3 separate regions of the Homo sapiens genome follow, and all the other regions are linked to region 2. The links are contacts of gene promoters, found by promoter capture Hi-C in human tissues and cell types (Jung and others, 2019). All regions are on one chromosome and are shown on one strand. The core of a region is centred on a gene start or on the middle of the fragment in contact, and the rest is flanking DNA. Distances in the headings are between cores, read along the strand shown. Region 1 holds the start of RABEP2 (rabaptin, RAB GTPase binding effector protein 2). Region 2 holds the start of SULT1A2 (sulfotransferase family 1A member 2). Region 3 has its middle 19 kb from the start of SBK1.

What was found. The method cuts DNA at HindIII sites, captures the fragments that hold promoters and counts their contacts. A contact is called where the count stands out against the background at its distance.
Region 1: the fragment with the promoter of RABEP2 here is called in contact with the fragment with the promoter of SULT1A2 in region 2 in 1 of the 25 tissues and cell types used here (H1 embryonic stem cells).
Region 3: a contact is called between a fragment that was not itself captured here and the fragment with the promoter of SULT1A2 in region 2, in 1 of the 25 tissues and cell types used here (dorsolateral prefrontal cortex).

What each region holds. Positions count from the first base shown.
Region 1 is chr16:28,923,345-28,928,414 of GRCh38, forward strand. RABEP2 (rabaptin, RAB GTPase binding effector protein 2) reads right to left here and starts at 1,894. Exons shown (of 13, transcript NM_024816.3): 1 at 1,759-1,894; 2 at 1,059-1,271. The coding sequence starts at 1,819. RefSeq lists enhancers at 1,026-1,115, 1,146-1,375, 2,354-2,937 and silencers at 1,536-1,755, 1,786-2,135. The HindIII fragment of the contact is 23,237 bases long and covers 1-5,070 here.
Region 2 is chr16:28,595,348-28,600,145 of GRCh38, forward strand. It overlaps SULT1A2 (sulfotransferase family 1A member 2), which reads right to left and starts at 1,703. Exons shown (of 8, transcript NM_001054.4): 1 at 1,650-1,703; 2 at 436-587; 3 at 203-328; 4 at 20-117. The coding sequence starts at 583. RefSeq lists enhancers at 1,641-1,935, 3,569-4,103, 4,104-4,637. The HindIII fragment of the contact is 13,947 bases long and covers 1-4,798 here.
Region 3 is chr16:28,270,908-28,276,022 of GRCh38, forward strand. It overlaps a transcript of SBK1 not described here. Among named protein-coding and RNA genes, the nearest start is that of SBK1, 19 kb to the right of the region's middle. The HindIII fragment of the contact is 4,022 bases long and covers 1-3,628 here.

The DNA of each region.
Region 1 (5,070 bases), core at 644-3,143, 330 kb after region 2:
AGGTTGCAGTGAGCTGAGATCACACCAGCGTGCTGTGACGCACTCCAGCTTGGGCGACAGAGTGAAACTCTTATTGACTCAAGAAAAAAAAAAAAAGCTAGCTATTGTTATTATTTAGGACACACCTGGCTTTTCTTATATAGTAGATATAACAAGTTTCCCTTAATAAATGTATGTAAACTTTTAAAATGTGGATCTATTTAAAGAACAAATATTAAGTAAACAGCACAGTAAGTTGTACAAGGATGTGTCTACATTGCACAGGCAGGTGGATCCTGAAATGTGGGAAATACAGCCCCAGAGAAGTCTCCAGCCACCAGCAGCTGTTAGAAAGGGAAATCGCATGTTGGGAAGGGAATTTTAGGAAGTTTACTCTGGAAGCCAATGTCAAGGCCACACTATAGAGGAAGATCTGTGAGAAGGTTGGGACAAAAGTCCAGGAGAGAGTTGACGAGAGCCCCACCGCAGCAGGGGCATAGCAGCGGGGGCAGCTCTGACATCTGTTTCAGAGTCTCTGGCTTCTGCTAGAGGAAGGAGAGTAGAAAACAGGATCAGCAGCTGGGGCGTCTGGGGCCAGAGGACCAAGTACAAAGAACGTGGGGCGGAGGTGGGGAAGCTGGTGCATGGCGTGGGGTGGAGGGGGGAGTGTCTGGGGAAGGCTAGAGAGCAGAGCATTAGACTCACAGAGACTGGGCCAGGGCTGATTCTATTTCCCAGAAGTCCAGACTAAAATGAGGTTGGTTTGGGGAACTGAGAAGTTTCTCGCCCATCTTCAGGGTTGATCAATCATCAGTGAGGGACAAGAAATGACATGGGACAAGGCAACAGATAGAAGCTGGGAGCTAAACTTAGCTATAACTGACAGAGCTGCTGCTATCACATGGAGGGCCTCTATGCAAATTTTAAAAGGGCGGCCCTTCCTCTGGGCCATAGGCATGCCCTGTGCCAGGCAGCCCTGCTAACCTATCCCATAGCTTATCTGTGCCCCCAATCCCTTTCTCGTCATGCACTCCCCAGTATGGGGTTGATGGGGAGTCTAGGTGAGTCCCGCGTCTCACCTTTCAGGATGGCCTGCAGCGAGGCCACCTCCTCTTGGCACTGCCGCTGCACCGCAGCCACAGCCTCGGCCTTCGTGCTCTCGCTCACCTCTGCCACAGCCTTCATGGTTTCCATTTCTGCCAGGGCGCCTGCCAGCTCAGCCCGAAGCCGGCTGAGCTCACCTGACTCGGCCTCACCATTTGCCCCTTCCTGGGACCGGGAGTCCTCCAGTGCTGTGGGGGACAGGGATCAGCCTCTCTTCCCATCTCTTACCCCAGGCCACCTACCGGCTTAGCAAGTCCTGCAACCTAGTACTGTTGCCTTCATCTGGGGCCTCCTTCACCTGGGCCCGCCCGGCTCACCTGGCCCCGCCCCTGCCCCGCCCCCTTCCCACTCGCTCTGCCGGGTGCTGCCTACACTCCATCTCTTCGCGGTGGCCAGTTTCACTCAGTCCTCTCTTCGGTCCCACCTGGCCCCGCCCTCCTAGTGGCCGCGCCCCTTCCTCACCGGGCCCCACTTCGCACCTGTCACTGGCCCTACCCCTTCAATGGCCGGGCCACGCCCCCTTTTGCCTGTGGCTGTAGGCCCCGCCCCCTTTCCCGACGGCGTGGCCCCGCCCCTTCCTCCATCATCCCTCTCCACCCCCCATCCGCAGGTGGCTGGCTCGGCCCCGCCCCCAGCATCACCGTTCCCCGCTTGCACGGACGCCCCCTCACGTACCAGCCCCCGGCCGCCGCCGCCGCTCATCGTCGTCCGCGGCCACCGGCGCAGCTGCCGCCATTGCCTCAGCGCAAACGGCGGATTCCCGCACTCCCTGGTGACGGAGCGCACCGCTTCCGGGTCCTCTCGGCTGTTTCCGGATCCGCTCGGCTGTTTCCGGATCGGCCCCGGGCTGGAGGCCCCGGACGGAGGATGGGGGGATTGCCGAGCCTCGGCCGAAGATTCCCGAGTCGGCCCCCGGCCCCGGCCCCGGCCCCGCCCCGGCTCTTCTTGGCTGGGTCGCGCGGTTCGGGAGGACGCCTGCCTTTCAAGCCCGGAAGAGGATCCTTAAGAGGTCTTGCCCGGCGTCTCTCCGTGACCTTGGAAGCCCTGCTCCAATTATGCCTCCTCCGGGACACCGGCCTGCGGAGAGCTCCCCCTCGCTCCCTCGCTGCCCCTGCCCGGAGCCAGCCTTTGATCGGCTCCGGCCGCCCTTCCGCCCGAGCCTGGCTTGCGTTACCGCGAATTGTGGCGGGGCCCTCCCTGCACCTCCGCCCTCTTGGAGCGTCCCTCGGGGCAGGGCCGGGTCGGCTTCATTTTTCTGAGCGCCTCGGAGTCCCCGCGTAGTTAGTCGGAGTCTGAAACTTGCACGTCCCCACCCCCATTTTGTTACTCAGCCAGTCACCGCTTCCTGCTGGCCCCCCTTTCCTCCTCCCAACGCCCTCAAATCCCTCCTCTCCTCTCCGCCTGTGTCTAGATCAGGCTCTTTATCTGTGACCTCCACCCGGACGGTGACAGGCAATTCAGATTTATGTCCAGAGCCTTGGTTCCCCTTCCCTCAAACCTTTTTTCCCTCTGTAAAGGACACGCCAGGAACCTGGAAGTCCTTGATTCTACGTGTCCTCCTGCAAGTCCCGTAAACTCTACTTCCAATGTGCTGACTATTCCAGAATGTGCCCCTTTTTCTCCATCTCCAGCGCTAACACTCCGTCCCAGCTCCCATCACTTCTCCTGAACTTCCGCAGTGTCGACTCCACCCTTTAATTAATTAATTCTCCGTAAAGCAGCTGGAGCGATTTTTGTAAAACAGATAATGCAGTTTGAAAATGGCCAAAGGTAGAACGCTTTTACACTGTTGGTGGGAATGTAAATTAGTTCAACCATTGTGGAAGACAGTGTGGTGATTCCTCAAAGACCTAGAACCAGAAATACCATTTGACCCAGAAATCCCATTACTGGGTATATACCTAAAGGAATATAAATCATTCTATTACAAAGATACATGCACGAGTATGTTCATTGAAGCACTATTCAAAATAGCAAAGACATGGACTCAACCCAAATGCCCATCAATGATAGACTGGATAAAGAAAATGTGGTACATATACACCATGGAATACTATACAGCCATAAAAAGGAACGAGATCATGTCCTTTGCAGGGACATGGATGAAGCTAGAAGCTATTATCCTCAGCAAATTAATGCAGCAACAGAAAGCTAAACATGCATGTTCTCACTTATAAGTGGGAGCTGAACAATGAGAACACATGGACACAGGGAGGGGACCAACACACATGGGGGCCTGTGGGGTGGGTGTTGGGAGGGGGGAGGGAGAGCATCAGCAAGAGTAGCTAATGCATCCTGGGCTTGATACCTAGGTGATGGGTTAATGGGTGCGGTAAACTACCATGGCAGATGTTTCCCTGTGTAACAAACCTGCACATCGTGCACATGTACCCCAGAACTTGAAATAAAGAAAATGGACAAAGGATATGAACGGATATTTCACTGCTGTCACAGGTGGCAATATGTGCATGAAAAGATGTTAAACATCATTAGCTATTTATTCGGGAAATACAAATTAAAACCACAATTGCTTTCATCACTACGCACTTCTTGGAATGGCTAAAATAAGAATGCTAACACCAAATGCTGGTGAGTATGTGGAGAAACTAGGTTTCTCATATTTTGTTGATGGGAATGTGAAATGGTATAGCCACTCTGCAAAAAGAGTATGGCAGTTTTGAACAAAACTAAACACGCACTTACTTTTTCATCAAGTATAAAACCAAGTGTTTTCCACCAAGCTTGGAGCTGAGGTCTCGGCTCAAATGTTACCTCCTCAGTGAGGCCTTCCCTGATCACCCTAACTAAAATAACCACCTCTGGCTGAGTGTGGTGGCTTATGCCTATAATGCTAGCACTTTAGGAGGCCAATGGCAGGAGGATCACTTGAGCCCAGGGGTTCGAGACCAGCCTGAACAACATAGTGAGACCTCATCTCTACAAAAAATTAAAAAATTAGCTGGGCATGGCCGGACACGGTGGCTCACGCCTGTAATCCCAGCACTTTGGGAGGCTGAGGAGGGCGGATCACGAGGTTAGGAGATCAAGACCATCCTGGCTAACATGGTGAAACCCTGTCTCTACTAAAAATACAAAAAATTAGCCGGGCATGGTGGCATGCGCCTATAGTCCCAGCTACTTGGGAGGCTGAGGCAGGAGAATTGCTTGAACCCGGGAGGCAGAGGTTGCAGTGAGCTGAGATCATGCCATTACACTCCAGCCTGGGCAGCAGAGCAAGACTCTGTCTCAAAAAAAAAAAAAAATTAGCTGGGCATGGTGATGTGCATCTGTAGTCCAAGCTACTCAAGAGGCTGAGGCGGGAAGATCTACTTGAGCCCTGGAGGCTGAGGCTGCAGTGAGCATGATTGTGCCACTGCACTCCAGCCTGAGGGAGAGAAAGACCCTGTCTAAAAAAAAAAAAAAAAAATTAAATCCAGACTCCCTGTGCATGCAGCAGGGTTTCTGGGGAAGGGGCTGAAATAATGACTAGAAATCAGCCTCCAGTCAGTTTGGGGAGGGCCTTCCTGACAGCTCTCAGGTTTGAGTTTATCCTGCAGGCCCTGGGAGCCACTGAAGGCCATTGAACAGGGGAAGCACATGACTAACATCAAAGAAGTTCTCTTGACATGCGGAGTGTAGATGGGAACCAAAAGATATAGGGGACAGGGAGCCCAGGAGAGAGGCTGTTGAATTGCTTCTGATTGTGAAGGAAGGATTCAGAGGGGAAAATTGATTCCATCAATATTTAGGATATAAAATGGACTGGCCTTGATGATAGAGTGCATGTGGGGGAAGAGAAAAGAAAATTTCGACCAGATGCGGTGGCTCATGCCTGTAATCCCAGCACTTTGGGAGGCTGAGTTGGGTGGATCACCTGAGGTCAGGAGTTCAAGACCAGCCTGGCCAACATGGTGAAACCTTGTCTCTACTAAAAATAGAAAAATTAGCTGGGCGTGGTGGTGCGCACCTGTAATCCCAGCTACTCAG
Region 2 (4,798 bases), core at 453-2,952:
CCACTGTGCCCAGTCTCACCTTGACCTTCTGATCCAACAGAGTCTGGGGGAGCAGAGCCAGGGGCAGGTGTGTCTTCAGGAGTCGTGGGGCTGGTGTGTTTTTCAGAGTCTCCATCCCTGAGCAGTGGGTCAGGGAAGGTCTGGTGAGCTGAAGCCCCAGCCCTGTCTTCCTCCACTCCCCTTGCACCCAGGACACACACACCTGAGGGAATCCCTGGGACTTTGAACTCAAGGAAGGGCACCCGCATGAAGATGGGAGCTCGGTGACACTTTTCCAGGTCACCGCCCTGGTAGATCATGTCCAGAATCTGGCTCACCCAGGTGGTGCCTGGAGAGGGAGGGAGATGGGAGGTGAGCAGGCTGAGGTGAGCATGACCTCGCTGGCCAAGGTGGGGACTGCCACCTGGGAGAGGGTGGGTGGCCCTCCTCACCTACCGGACTTGGGGTAGGTGCTGATGAGCAGGTCATCAGGCCGGGCCTGGAAGCTCTGCAGGGGCCCCAGTGCCTCTGCAAAGTACTTGATGAGCGGGACCCCCTTCACGTACTCCAGTGGCGGGCGAGAGATGTCCTGGATCAGCTCCATGTTCCTGCGTCAGGGGCCAGAGCCAGGCCCGTTCCCTTACCACCATCACAACAGCAAGAAAGTGGAATTCTTGCTTTCAGGGAAGTCACTGAGGCCTAGGGAGGCTGAGTGACTTGCCCGCACTCACAAGGCCAGTCAGTGGCGGGGCTGGGGCTGAAAACCAGGTCGGGCTCTAATGTGGTGGTTCCCCAGCCTGGCCTCACCTTTCATTCACCTGCGGAGCTGTTCAAAATCCCAGGGCCTGGGCCATGGTGCAGACCAGTGAAAGCACCCTCGTGGCGCGGGGCCCAGATGTCAGGGTGTGTGAAGGTCTCCAGGAGAGTCCAGCTGCACTGAGGAACCTCTAGGACCTTCCTGTGCTGTCTTCCTGCCAGCCAGCGCCCTTTGTCTCACCATTTCCTGCTGGGACCCCCAGCCTCCACCCAGTAGGCTCCTCTCCCCGATGTTCCCCTCCTTGAGCCCCTCGGCCCCTCACATGTGGCAACTCCTAGGCTGGCCAGGCCTGTGATCCACTTGCCCGGCCACAGTCCATCTGGGCTCCAGGACAAACAGCCCATTGAGCAACTGAGCTGGTATTGGGGGCCAGAGCCTGATGTGGGAATGAGCAAAACTGTGATGACTCAGCAAAAGGAGGATCCTGGGCAGGGTGGCTCCCACCTGTAATCCCAGACCCTAGGGAGGCTGAGGCCAGAATTTGGAGACCAATCTGGGCAGCATTGGAAGACCCCATCTCTAAAAATCTTTTAAAAATATTTTTTAAAACTATCCAGGCAGGATGGTGAGGGTCTGTAGTCCTAGCTACTGAGGCAGGAGAATCACTTGAGCCCAGGAATTCAAGGCTGCAGTGGCCAGGATCCCACAGCACTCCAGCCTCGGTGACAGCAAGACCTGGCCTCCCCGGAAAAAAAAAAAAGGAAGGGAGGGGGATTCAGGCCGGCCGGGGTTGTCTGAAATGGGATATCCATGGGGAGAGGGCAGGGATAGCAGAGGCCTCGGCTTCTGGAATGTTGGAGCCACAAGCTGAGCAGGGTGAGGGCGTCCTGGGCCATTCCGGTGTGTCACTCACCTGAGCTCTTGGGAACCTGGCCTTGTGCCCTCCTCGCCCGCAGTGGCTGAGTGTGGGTGTTGTGTGGGGAATGCAGGGGTGTTGTCTGTGCTGAGGGTTTCTTAGGTCAGTGTGGGAGGGATCTGGAGCCGGGGCTGGACTTAGATTTGCTTCCGGAAGGAAGGGGTAGGGTTGGGGGTGGGGGAGCTTCTCTATTACCCTCCTTAGTTTGCCAGCTGGAGACAAGCTTAAAGTGATCTCCAAAGCCACGACTGGGTTTGGTGTGTAGAAAACAGAAGAATGAAAGGGGAAAGGGCCCAATGGTGGGTTTGTTTTTGTGGGTTTTTTTTTTTGAGCTGTCACTGGGCTCCTGACCTGCCCCTGAACTCCAAAAGACAAGCTTTCTCTAATTGACCCAGGCAAGAGAGGGGAGGGATTGGAGGAGAAAGATGGGATAGGCAGGCCCTGGAAAGGTCACCTACCTGCTGGCTCCAGGCCAGTCTTGAAGGTGCCAGGGGTCCTGGCCCAGTGCAACCCACAGGCCTCCAGCAGCCCATGCACTCCAGGCTCTGACCACAAGGCCAGTCTGGAGTGATGCGTGTGGGCAGAGTGAAGGGGCAGGGGTGGAGCAGAGCATGGATCCATAGAACAAGAAAGAACAAGGACACTGCAGTCCCATTGCCCTGGGAGCCAGCCCCAGCTTCATGGCTCCCTGGGGACCTCACAGAACATCGATAGAAGATCCTAGAAGAACCACAGCCCCTGGCAGGTACTTTTCTTTCCATGGGTTTGAAGGAGGCTCCACAGACAGAGGCCAGAGGAGGTTGAGGCTTGGAAGCCACAGGGCCCCGTGGAAGGAGTGCATCCCCCCACCCTCCTCGTTCTTTGTCCTCACTATTTAAAGTCCAGGGTCAAGCTGGGCACGAGACAGGTAAACAACCATCTGAGTAAAGGTGAGTCTCCCAAGCCTTCCCAGGGTTGCGTGAGCTCAGAGGCAAGCGGGGAAAACTGAGGCATGGGATTTCCAGGCAGAGGAGAGGCTGCTCCCCTGCTAGGGCCACAGGCCCCTCCTCCCTCCTCTGTGCCCCTGAGGAATCCCCATGACTGGCAGGTCCTCCGGCTACTAGCTCCACCCCTGCCCTCAGCAACCTTCAGGAGGCCCTCTTGACTGAGACTTTGTATTGCACTCTAGTGAAAACCAGCCGGACCAGCAGGGGGTGGCACAGAAAAGAGGCGAGAATGTGAGATTAATAGAGTGCTAGCAAGACAACAGAAAATCCCAGGCAGCAGTTTCACATGACCAGAAGAAGGAAACTTGAAATAGCTGCATGTGCCAAGGGCCAATAAGTCCCTGAAAAATAGGATGAGGACCAAGCTGGCTGCGACCAACCAGAAGCAACATGGCGCTGTATTTGATGTAGGTTTCACCTAGGATCTCACTGTACAATCAGTAACATATGAAACCGTACACCCACCAGTGCCAAGACGGCTCCAGGAACACCTGTATTTGGGTGTAAATTGTGGCACCACGGTCTTGAGAAATCTTTACCTTTTCCTGGAATCTTCATGAATATACCCCTCTTTAGTTGAAGAAGCCCATAAAGGTCAGCCCCACACCTTGTAGGGCATGAGACACTCTCTTGAGGACCCCCACGTTCCTCTTCTTCAGTGAGTCCCTTTACTCTGCAGGAAATCTGCCTACGTTCATGACTTTTGCACTTGTCCTTAAATTGTTTCTGGCTAAGGTGCCAAGAGCCTGGAGAAGGCCTGGCACGGTGGCTCACTCCTGTAATCCCAGCACTTTGGGAGGCCGAGGCAGGCAGACCACCTGAAGTCGGGAGTTTGAGACCAGCCTGACCAACATGGAGAAACCTTGTCTCTACTAAAAATAGAAAATTAGTCAAGCCTGGTGGCACACGCCTGTAATCCCAGCTACTTGGGAGGCTGAGGCAGGAGAATCGCTTGAACCCGGGAGGCGGAGGTTGCGGTGAGCCAAGATCACGCCATTGCACTCCAGCCTGGGCAACAAGAGTGAAACTCGGTCTCAAAAAAACAAAACAAAACAAAAAAAAGCGTGGAAACGGGCTGAGGTCGATGTCCCACCGGTCTTTGATGACCTCCCCTAGGCCACCAGTATCTGGAGGGGATTAGGGACACTGAGCTCCAGCAGGGCTATCCAGTGTGCCTGCAGAAACAAGGTTGGTCACAGGCAGCCCAGGACAGGGAGTGGGGTAGGGAGGCTGGGGCCAAAGCCCACTCACGTCTTCTAATTCCGAGTCTTCCACTATTTCCCCCGTGCTCATCCATCACAGCCAGATCAGGTCACCCAAAGCAGTGACGCCTCACAGCTACCAAGGCATGGGGCCAGAGAGAGAGACAGAGTCAGGCATCACAAGCCCCCTCCAGGCTCAGCCCTGAATACCAAGATCAGGACACGGCTGCCCCGGCCTGGATTGCACAACTGGGCACCCTCTTCCCAAAGCTGGACCAGGCTGGGGCCGGGGGACTGCACTCAGCTAGGGCATTGGCCCTCTAGGGGCAGAAGCTGCCCTGGTTCTTCCGGAAGGAACTCCTCTCACAGGCAGATCACGTGGGCTCTTAGCCAACAGCCAGGGTTGGGGCAACACAAGGGCCCCGCTTCATCCTGTCCCAGGCAGCAGGCAGGTAAGAGACAAGGAGGGAGAGGCAGCTGGCAGCAACCCCTCTATGCAGCAGGCACTGTTCCGGGCATTACACAGCTCCATCCCGTGAGGCAGAGGTGACTGTTATTTGCATCTTACAGATGAGGAAATGGAGGTGGGGGTTTAAAATCCTTGCCCCTGGGACTAAGCTGGTGCAGGTCCTGGGAGCATCAGCAGTGATTGATTGAGTCACAGCCTCACCACTGCAGCCAGACCTGAACTTCCTCACAGCTCAGCAACACCCAGCAGGTCACTGAATGTCCCCAGGGCAAGTCCTCTACTCACTCACTATTAGCGGGTGCTCAGTAGAAGGCACCCGTTTTCCATTATTTTATTAACTATTTCTTGGCTATCGTCTCTGTGCAGGACTTTGTTCTACAGCAGTGACAAGAGCTGCCCTCGGGCAATGTAGTGCAAAGGTTGGGGTGGGAGAGACTAACGAGAGTCATAAAGCACCTAGCCGGTGAGATAGTAAGTATTCAGGTAAAG
Region 3 (5,115 bases), core at 368-2,867, 320 kb before region 2:
GGCTGGAGTGCAACAGCGTGCTCTCCGCTCACTGCAAGCTCCGCCTCCCGGGTACATGCCATTCTCCTGCCTCAGCCTCCCGAGTAGCTGGGACTACAGGCGCCCGCCACCACGCCTGGCTAATTTTTTGTACTTTTAGTAGAGACGGGGTTTCACCATGTTAGCCAGGATGGTCTCGATCTCCTGACCTTGTGATCCACCCGTCTCAGCCTCCCAAAGTGCTGGGATTACAGGCGTGAGCCACTGCACCCGGCCTACGCACCCTTACTTGAGAAAGCTACTGGAGGATGTACTCCACTAAAATAAGGGAGTAAACCAAGTAAAACAAGAAATAGTAAACAAGAAAAACAATAAAGAGTAAGACCTGGGCCAGGAGTAGTGGCTCACACCTGTAATCTTAGCACTTTAGGAGGCCAAAGCAGGCAGATCACCTGAGGTCGGGAGTTGAAGACCAGCCTGGCCAACATGGTGAAACCCCATTTCTACTAAAAATACAAAAATTAGCTGGGCATGGTGGCACACGCCTGTAATCTCAGCTACTTGGGAGGCTGAGACAGGAGAATCACTTGAACCTGGGAGGCGGAGGTTGCAGTGAGCCAAGATCACACCACTGCACTCCAGGCTGGGTGACAGAATGCGACTCCGTCCCCCCACCCCCAAAAAAGAGAGTAACATCTGGACTCCAGGAAACAGGAATTGAATGTAAGAGAGAGGAGAAGAGAATCTCGCAGTTCACACTCAAATAAGAGAAGAGATCTCTTCAAGGAGATGAAATTGATAGAATACCTAATGTTTTTGAATTTTGGAGACATTTACACAAGTAGGGGAGAATATGGGTTGACTGATATATAAACATGTAGGTAAACAAGTACTCCCCTCTCCAAAAAATGTTATCAAATCCAGGAAAACCGAAACTTTTGAACAGAAAAGGGAAAGAAATTTAAAATGAAAATTTCTGCCCTGCAAAAGACTCTGCCAAGAGAATGTGAAGAGAAGCCACAGAATGGCAGAAAATATCAAGTGCTCCTTGGTATTTACCCAAATAAGTTGAAAATTTATGCCCACAGAAAATCCTGCACATGAATATTTGCTAGTTTCGTTTTACTGTGGTAAGGACACTTAATGAAATTTGTCCTCCTAACATATTTTTAAATGTACAATACATGTATAATACATGGTTGTTTTTTTGAGACATGGTCTTACTCTGTTACTGAGGCTGGAGTACAATCACAGCTCACTGCAGCCTCCATCTCCTGGGCTCAAGCAATCCTCCATCCTCAGCCTCCAGAGTAGCTGGGACTACAGATGCATGCCACCATGTCCAGTTAATTTTTAAATTTTTTATAGGGACAGAGTTTCGCTATGTTGTCCAGGCTGGTTTCGAACTCCTGGGCTCAAGTGGTCCTCTAGCCTCAGCCTCCCAAAGTGCTGGGATTCCAGGTGTGAGCCCCTGGTACAGAGTTACACAGCAGCTCTTTAGAGCTTATTCATCTTGCTTTATTGAATCTTTATGCCTACTGATGAGCTATTCCCCAATTTCTTCTGCAACTCTGACAACTATAGAACCAAAATCTAGGAATTAGACTTCTTTAGATATCCCATATAAGTGGAATTATGAGATATGTGTCCTTCTGTGGCTTATTTTGCTTTGCATAATGTCCTTGAGTTTCATCTATGTTGTCACATATTTTTTTTCTTTCTTTCTTTCTTTCTTTTTTTTTTTTTTTTTTTTGAGACGGAGTCTCACTCTGTCACCCAGGCTGGAGTGCAGTGGCATGATCTTGGCTCACTGCAACCTCTGCCTCCCAGGTTCAAGCGATTCTTCTGCCTCAGCCCCCTGAGTAGCTGGGACTACAGGCATGCCCCACCACGCCTGGCTAATTTTTGTATTTTTAGTAGAGATAGGGTTTCACCATATTGGCCAGGCTGGTCTCGAACTCCTGACCTTGTGATCCACCCACTTCGGCCTCCCAAAGTGCTGGGATTACAGGCGTGAGCCACCATGCCTGGCCTGTCATCGCATATTTTTAAGGCTTAATTGTAGTAGTCCCTGTTGCATGTATAGATCACATTTTTTTCATCCATTCAACCCATTTGGGTTATTTCTACATTTGGCTATTGTGAATATTGTTGTAAAGAACACAGGAGTGCTAATACCATTTTGAGAATTATTTTTTTCTTTTTTTAGAGACAGGGTCTCATTATGTTGCCCAGGCTGGTCTCGAACTCATGGCCTCAAGCAGTCCCTTCACTTTGAACTCCCAAAGTGCTGGATTAAAGGTGTGAGCCACCGCACCTGGCCTCTCTTTCAGATTTTTTTTTTTTCTTTTGAGACAGAGTTTCTTTCTTATTGACCAAGCTAGAGTGCAATGGCGCAGTCTCGGCTCACTGCAACTTCCGCCTCCTGGGTTCAAGCAATTCTCCTGCCCCAGGCTCCCAAGTAGCTGAGATTACAGGCGTGAGCCCCCATGCCCAGCTAATTTTTGTATTTTTAGTAGAGATGGGGTTTCACCATTTTGGCCAGGCTGGTCTCAACAAACTCTTGACCTCAGGTGATCCGCCTGCCTCGGCCTCCCAAAGTGCTGGGATTACAGGCATGAGCCACCATGCCCGGCCATAGGTTGTCTTTTCACTGTGTAGATTGTTTCTTTTGCTAAGCAGAAGCTTTTTAGTTTGATGTAGTCCCACTTGTCCATTTCATTTTTTTGTAGAGATGGGGTTATGCCGTGTTACCCAGGCTGGTCTTAAACTCCTGAGCTCAAGCAGTCCACCCACCTTGGCCTCCCACAGTGCTGGGATTCCAGGCGAGAGTCCCTGCGCCCAGCCCCACTTGTCTATTCTTGTTTTTGCTGCCTGTTTTTGGTGTCTTATCTGCACATGAATATTTATAGCAGCTTTATTCATAATTGCCAAAACTTGGAAGAAACCACAATGACAATGTCCTTCTATAGGTACACCCATACAATGGAACATTCAGTGATAAAATGAGCCATCAAGCCACCCAAAAGACACAGAGGAACCTTAAATGTGTATTGCTACGTGAAAGAAGCCAGTCTGAAAAGTACTATCTGACTCCAGTGATATGACATTCTGGAAAAACCAAAACTAAAGAGAATAAAAAGATCAGTGGTTGCCAGGGGGCTGGCGGGAGAGAGGGAGGGATGAAGAGGTACAGCATGGTGGATTTTTAGGGCAGTGAAACTATTCTGTATGATACTGGGAGGGTGGACCTGTAACATACATTTGTCAAAACCCATGGAACTCTACAAAACAAAGAATGAGCCCCGATGATGTAACATATGAACTTTAGTTAGCAACTATGTATCAATCTTGGTTCATCAGTTTTAACAAGTGCACCACGCTGATACAAGATGTTAATGGTAGGAGAAATTTGTTGGGAGGAGAGGAAGTATACTACAAAACTGAAAGTCTCTTGGTCAATTCAAACGCGTTCTGCTCAGGCCAGGTGCGATGGCTCACACATGTAATCCCAGCACTTTGGGATGCCGAGGAAGGCAGAGCACCCGAGGTCTGGAGTCCAAGACCAGCCTGGCCAACATGGTGAAACCCCGTCTCTACTAAAAATACAAAAAAATTAGCCAGGCATGGTGGTGGGTGCCTGTAATCCCAGCTATTCGGGAGGCTGAGGCAGGAGAATCGCTTGAACCCAGGAGGCGGAGGTTGCAGTGAGCCGAGATCGAGCCACTGCACTCCAGCCTGGGTGAGAGAGTGAGACTCTGTCTCAAAAAATAAAAAGAAACACGTTCTGCTCAATTGTTCTGTAAGCCTAAAACTACTCTAAAATATAAAGCCTATTATTGAAAAAAAAAGAAAGGAATCATAGTGTTCCACACAGAGCTGTAAATAACGTTTCCACAATATGTAAACATTTCCAGTCTTACCAATGTTATAATGCAACTGTAATGTGAGGGGGGATAGGATGTGGGAGTGGGTGGGAGAGGGAGTGGTTGGACATAAGGAGCTAAATCCTCTTCTCCCAAAGTGGGAGGTTGGTAAGGAATGCCTAAAACTGGAAAAGAAGCAATGTAAACATGGTATGTAGGAAATGTGGAGGTAAAAATGACTAATCACGAGCTAAAAGAGTTGAGATGGTTGTCCTTATGAAGTGGGAAAAGGGGCCGGGCGTGGTGGCTCACGCTGTAACCCCAGCACTTTGGGAGGCCGAGGCAGGAGGATCTCTAGAGGGCTGAAGTTCGAAACCAGCCTGGGCAATATAGTGAGACCCTCCCCCATCTCTACAAAAAATTACAAATTAGCCAGTCACTGGGGCTTGTGCCTGTGGTCCCAGCTACACAGGAGGCTGAGGCGGGAGGATTGCTACAGTGAGCCGTGATCACACCAATGCACACCAGCCTGGGTGACAGAGCGAGACTCCATCTCTTAAAAAATAAGTGAGAAATGGGGGTGAGGCTGCCCCTGTGCGTTGATTCTAAACAATGGGCATATCTAACTTGAATACAAATTAAAAGTATATTTTCTATATGTATATAAGAAGAGAAGAAATAATAAGAACAAACAAAAGAGACTGGGAAGTTGCAGAGCAGAGAGAAGGAAGCCAGTTCCATCAAGAAGCTTTGTTCGGGGGCCCAGAAATGGCTCAAGACGTGGGTCAGGAGGAGACGCCAGAGCCTTGGTGCCCACAAGAAAGTCCTGGAAAAAGAATGAGGGGGTCCCGGTGCAGTGGCTCATGTCTGTAATTCCAGCACTTTGAGAGGCCAAGGCAGGTGGATCGTTTGAGCCCAGGAGTTCAAGACCAGCCTTGGCAACATGACGAAACCCTGAGTCTACAAAAAATAAGAAAATTAGCCAACCATGGTGCATACCTGTAGTAACAGCTACTCAGGAGGCTGAGGTGGGAGGATCGCTTAAGTCCAGGAGTTAGAGGCTGCAGTGAGCTATCACTGCACCACTGCACTCCAGCACTCTGGCCTGGGTGACAGAGGAAGACCCTGTCTCAAAAAAAAGGAAGGAAGGAAGGAAGGAACGAAGGAAGGAAGGAAAGGGTAAAGAAAAAGAAAAAGAAAGAATGAGGAGGACGGAGTGGGGAAGAAGGGAACCTCTGAAGAAACTGGGTCCCTGTAGCCCCTCAGGGGA